Regions from separate parts of the Homo sapiens genome. Here region 1 is linked to region 2. The links are contacts of gene promoters, found by promoter capture Hi-C in human tissues and cell types (Jung and others, 2019). All regions are on one chromosome and are shown on one strand. The core of a region is centred on a gene start or on the middle of the fragment in contact, and the rest is flanking DNA. Distances in the headings are between cores, read along the strand shown. Region 1 overlaps MED13L (mediator complex subunit 13L). Region 2 holds the start of FBXW8 (F-box and WD repeat domain containing 8).

Region 1 (2,960 bases), core at 367-2,866, 940 kb before region 2:
CATGGCATTGAATTAAAGACTTTAGTGCTTAAGGCTCCAAAAAAAGGGAGAAATACAGCATACCTCTGTTTCTTACACAACTAACATTACAACTTCAATAACCAATTCTTTGTTAATGCATAAACTGAATTACAAAAACAGGTACTGGGAGGTAGTTGCTATTATTCCATTTCACAGATAAGGTAACTCAGGCTAAGAGAGGTGAAGTTAGCTTGTCCAAGGTCACAAAGCCCGTAGGCCCAGAGCTGCAATTCAAAGTTGTCTTTAACAGACTGTGGGGCATGCATTCTTAGCTGCTATGCTACTTGCCTCCAGAATTCAAATTAAACCCAACTTTAAAAAAATAGACAATGTAACATTTGTGTTTTTCGTTCCTATCACAACCGTTTCCCATGAACAAATTATCATTAACTGGTAAGTACTGCAAAGGAAACAAAGACCCTTAAAACCCCTTCCTTCCAGAAGAGGGTAATAGGGGCAGGTATAACATGGGAACAGTCTGAGATGCCCTCCTCTGGTCTTACCTGCTCTGTGACTAATCTAAGCTATAAACCTTTTTTCTCTCCAGCGTCTAATAAATTCAGTGCTGGGAATAAAAGTCCCCCCCCCCCCCCGATGAAAACTGAAGTCCTTTATGTCCATCTTTGTGTCTAAATAAATGAGTGTGAGCAGGCTGCTTATGCTTGTTCAGTCTAAGATACCAGACATAGCTATTTTTCAAAGTCTTAACTCCCCAGTCTCATAACATTTTAAATAAACAGTACAATACAGTGATGCAGCAGGAATCATCTAACTGAAGCAAAGTTACCACAAGCTGTGGCAGAACCCTCTAACTCTTAAATCTTCTGTTGTTCATCCACCTCCAATATCCCTGAGATATTTAAAGATGAAACCAGTTGTAAGCTCTGGTTTTTTCCTTAATACTCTGGCGTTAACCTGGACACATCTGTAAAATCAATCTCCTGGCGGCTCTTGCCATTCCTGCAGGTCGGCTAGAAAGAAGAAGGCTGCAAAATGACTAAGCCAGGACACGCAAAGAGCACGGCAGGCTCCTTTCAGAACAAGCCATCACCAACGTGTTCTTCAATCAGCACAATTACTCTGCATGTTGAGTAAGTACGGTTGTTGTACTAATCTCTTAAAAGCCACTATTTTGGCAAAAAATAAAACCATTAAAAAACTGGGAAGCAGCAAGCAACTAGAACTAATTTTTGCTAAGAAAACAATGCATTAAAAACCCTTGCATCTGTAATAGGACTATTCTTCTGATAAAACTTATTCATCAGAAATAATAACATATTTATTTCAAATTCCTGCCTTCTATTCAAAATGGAACCATAGTCAGTTTCCCACACTTATTTCTCTTGTACCAAGGACCCAGACCATCAAGAACTGTGCAAGTAGGAACAAGATGATCAGATGTCCAGTGGATTATCTTCCTAAAGGCTATGGTTGTCTTAAACAACGTACTCCAAATCATCCTTACCCGACTATGCTGGAAGTGAGAGCCCACACCAATTCCAGAAGGAGAGCCTGGGGAGGGTACTGGGGAAGAGTTGGGAGAGGAATGGAGGTTCCCAGTCATTAATATGCCAATATCATTGTCCATATCATCTGGGAATGGAAGGTCAACAAACATATCATCTAGAGGGAAGGGGGGAAAAAAAGCACAAAAATTAAAAAGATAGTCCACATATCAATATCATAATAATCCAACCTAACCTATGTCATGTTTTGTTGGCATATGGCTATTATGGACACACACTGTTAATAACTTAGATTCAGTTAGGACCTACTGAGTGCAAGCTATTACAAATTATTCTTTCATTTTGTACTCTCTCCAATGATCTCCTTATGTACAGTATTAACAGAATGCAATAAAGAATATAACATAAAAACCTACACTCTGCATAGCCTCCAAAGACACATAAAAGTATGGTAAAAGAGCTAAAGCAACAATTTAATCATTAAAATTGACACCATTCAAAAACACAGTAGACTCCATCTATGTATCCACTTAGCATCTAAAACACCAGAGGCTGAATGAATGCATGTTAATGAGTGTGAACTTGCCCTGAAAATGGAGACCTATTCCAAAAGCAAATCAAAGCACAATGTTTTCTCTCTTTTTTTTTTTTTGAGATGGAGTCTCCCTCTGTTGCCCAGGCTGGAGTGCAGTGGCACGATCTCGGCTCACTGCAACCTCTGCCTCCTGGGTTCAAGTGATTTCTGGCTAATTTTTGTATTTTTCATAGAGATGGGGTTTCACCACGTTGGCCAGGCTAGTCTCAAATTCCTGACCTCAAGGGATCCGCCTGCCTCAGCCTCCCAAAGTGCTAGGATTACAGGCATAAGCCACCGTGCCTGGCCCAGCATTTTCATTAAGAAATCCTCCCCAACATTATAAAAGTAAGGTACACTCACAGCAGAAAATTTGTAAAGAAAAGTATAAAAAGTGAAAACCATCACCTAGAACCCAATCACCATGATCATTTTTTTCTATGATTCTTTTATTTTCTCATATATTTGTTATTCTATTGTAATCATACCAGATATAAAATTTGGTATCCTTTTCCTCATCCCATTTACCATAAATAAACACTGGTAGGTGTTATAATTTCTTCAAAAACAATGCAAATGGATGCTGTGTTGAGTGTTTTATAGTTTATAAATAATCATTTTTTTAAACAAATACCTTAACAGCTATTCAAAAATTTCCATTAAGAATAATCAAATAAGGGTTTCTCTATAGCAAATTAGATTGCCATAGACTAGCTAAAGGAAGGTGCTCTCTTCATATTGCTTAGTACTTCACACATTTCAAATCACATCAGCAAATATTTATTGAAAGAGTGGCACCTAAGTACAGAACAGTGCCACGCAGGTATTATTTTTTGCCTTTAATGAAAAATGGAAGAAAGTTAATTGCCCAAACAAGGAAAATATTTATTTGGTCTTGT
Region 2 (2,975 bases), core at 458-2,957:
AGGCAGCTAGTTTATTTACAGAAGTGATTCTAGAGAAGAGGCCTGAGAGACTAAGAAGAGTTAGACAAGGAATAAGGGACAGTTAATTGCAAGAGCATCTTTGAGCCTGGAGTGGTGGCTCACACCTGTAACCCCAGCACTTTGGGAGGCTGAGGTGGGTGGATCACTTGAGGTCAGGAGTTCAAGACTAGTCTGGCCAACATGGTGAAACCCTATCTCTACTAAAAATACAAAAACTTAGCCAGGTGTGGTGGCGGGCACCTGTAGTCCTAGCTACTCAGGAGGCTGAGGCAGGAGAATGGCGTGAACCCGGGAGGCGGAGCTTCCAGCGAGCCGAGATCGCGCCACTGCACTCCAGCCTGGGCAACAGAGCGAGACTCCGTCTCAAAAACAAAACAAACCAAACAAACAAACAAACAAAAAACCATTTATTGAGCATGTATTAATCACCAGTCTCAAAGCTAAGAGTTGCCAATCTAGAAGGGAAGGGATATATATATATACATAAAAATAAAATTACAAATTGTGTTATGTATTATGATGAGAAGTACAGGATGCTGTGAGAATGAGTAACAGGGATACCTGATGTTTCTTGAGTGGAGGTTGGAAGATTAAGTGAAATGTGAGTTGAGATATGAAAGATGTGTAGGAGTTAACCAAGTCAAGGTGGGGGGAAAAGTTCCCTGCTGAGGGAATATCAGGTGCAAAGAAAACATTTTTAAGTGGAACGCCATCGTATGTCATTTTCTTTCCCATCTTAAAGCCCTTGGATTTCCTTCTGGAAATCTCTCTCCTAAGATCTGACCTTCCCTTGGCTGGTTTCTCTTTCAGATTTTTAAAAAAAAATTTTTATTTCCACAGGTTATTGGGAACAGGTGGTATTTGGTTACATGAGTAAGTTCTTTAGTGGTGATTTGTGAGATTTTGGTGCACGCATCACCCGAGCAGTATACACTGAACCCAAGTTATAGTCTTTTATCCCTCCCCACCTTCCCACCCTCCCCTCGTCCCCCTCCCCTGTTCCAAAGTCCCATAAGTCATTCTTATGCTTTTGCATCCTCGTAGCTTAGCTCCCACTTATATGTGAGAACATACGATGTTTGGTTTTCCATTCCTGAGTTACTTCACTTAGAATAATAGTCTCCAATCCCATCCAGGTTGCTACGAATGCCATGAATTCATTCCTTTTTTATGGCTGAGTAGTATTCCACCATATGTATATATCAGTTTCTTTATCCACCTGTTGATTCTCTTTTAGATTTTAATTTAAATAACATCTTAAACAGACTTTCACTATCAATCCTTACTCCCCTTACCTTACCTTATTTTGTTTTCTTCCTAATACCTATCACTGATTTAAATGTTCATATTTCTTTGTTTAAAGTCTCCCTACTTAAACGCATGCTCCAAGACGTCAGAGTTTTTGTTTTGTTTTACAGATTTAAATGCTGAATTCTTGGTGCCTGGCATATAGTAGTTGCTGAATGAATGTTTGTTGAATGAAGGAACAATGCTTGGCGCAAAGTCAGAGCTTAGCAAAAGTGATAGGCAGCAGAGCTGACGGGCTGAGGGGCAGCTGCGTAAACCTCTGCTTTGGGCGCCACAAGCCACAAGCCGGACCACCACGTGCGTACAGGGGCAGCGCCGGGGGCGTGGCGGGGGCGTGGACGCCCACCCGGAACCCTAGAGCGGCGGCGGCAGCGGCTTCCGGCCGCGGCGGACACTTCCCTGGGCGGGACTGTCTCGTGGCACCCGGTGGAACCGAGGAGAACGTGGAGCGCCGGGAGCGGCGAATATGGACGACTACAGCCTGGATGAGTTCCGTCGGCGCTGGCAGGAGGAGCTGGCGCAGGCCCAGGCGCCGAAGAAGCGGCGACGGCCCGAGGCTGCCGAGAGGCGGGCTCGGCGGCCGGAGGTGGGCTCCGGGCGCGGCGAACAGGCCTCGGGGGACCCGGCGCTGGCCCAGCGTCTCCTGGAGGGCGCGGGGAGGCCCCCGGCGGCGCGGGCGACTCGGGCCGAGGGGCAGGACGTAGCGAGCCGCTCACGTTCTCCTCTGGCCCGCGAGGGCGCCGGGGGCGGGGAGCAGCTGGTGGACCAGCTCATCCGCGACCTGGTGAGTGGCCGTCGCCTCCCCCCCGCCCATGCCTGCGCCGGCCCCCGCCCCCAGGACAAACCCCTGCAGTGATTTGGAGAGTAACTGTGTGCCACTAGTTGCCCGAGAAAATGAGTAGACGCACAAACACCAATGTTTGTGCTTGCATAGGGGTCTTTCTGGAAGCAGCACTTCCCAACCAGGGCGATTTTGTTCCCCCAGATGTGGCAGTGTCTGCAGACATTTTTGGGTGCCTCATCGGGGTGTGTATGTGTGCATGTTACTGGGCATCTAGTGGGTAGAGGCCAGAGATGCTCCTGAACATCCTACAGTGTACAGGACACCACGCACAAAAAAATTATCCAGGACAAAATATCAGTAAGTGTGGGGTTGAGAAATCCTGCTCTTGAAGGCTACCTAAACTTTGAACAAAGGTTGCCTTTGAAAAGGAGGACCCAGATGATGGATAGGAAGTAATTTTACCTTTGTATACTGTTTGCACTATTTAATTTTTGTAACCGTGCACGTATTCAAAAAAATTATCTCAGAAAAAAAGGAAGAAGAGGAGGAAGAATCTCCTGGGCACTTTCATTAGGATAGAGTTTCTTATCTTTTTGTGGGGCGTGGATACCTTGGAGAATCTGGAGGAAGCTGGGGACCCTGTGTCCGTTAAAAATAATCCCCTTCAGAAAGTTGGGAAAATCAAGAACACCTGAAATGCATCCGTGGCTCCCAGGTTAAGAGGACAAGGCTCCAGGTTCTAATGGTTTGATTTAAATTAGGCCCAAAGGAAGTCCCTACAGCTTTACAATTGGGAACCCACTTTTTTTTTTCCTGTTTTTTTTTTTTTTTCTTTCTTTCTTTCTTTTCTGAGACAGGGTCT

Evidence for each region. The method cuts DNA at HindIII sites, captures the fragments that hold promoters and counts their contacts. A contact is called where the count stands out against the background at its distance.
Region 1: a contact is called between a fragment that was not itself captured here and the fragment with the promoter of FBXW8 in region 2, in 1 of the 25 tissues and cell types used here (bladder).

What each region holds. Positions count from the first base shown.
Region 1 is chr12:115,967,454-115,970,413 of GRCh38, forward strand. It overlaps MED13L (mediator complex subunit 13L), which reads right to left. Exons shown (of 31, transcript NM_015335.5): 28 at 1,487-1,644. Among named protein-coding and RNA genes, the nearest start is that of LINC02463, 83 kb to the left of the region's middle. The HindIII fragment of the contact is 6,936 bases long and covers 1-2,960 here.
Region 2 is chr12:116,909,243-116,912,217 of GRCh38, forward strand. FBXW8 (F-box and WD repeat domain containing 8) reads left to right here and starts at 1,708. Exons shown (of 11, transcript NM_153348.3): 1 at 1,708-2,113. The coding sequence starts at 1,796. RefSeq lists silencers at 1,536-1,755, 1,916-2,175. The HindIII fragment of the contact is 14,688 bases long and covers 1-2,975 here.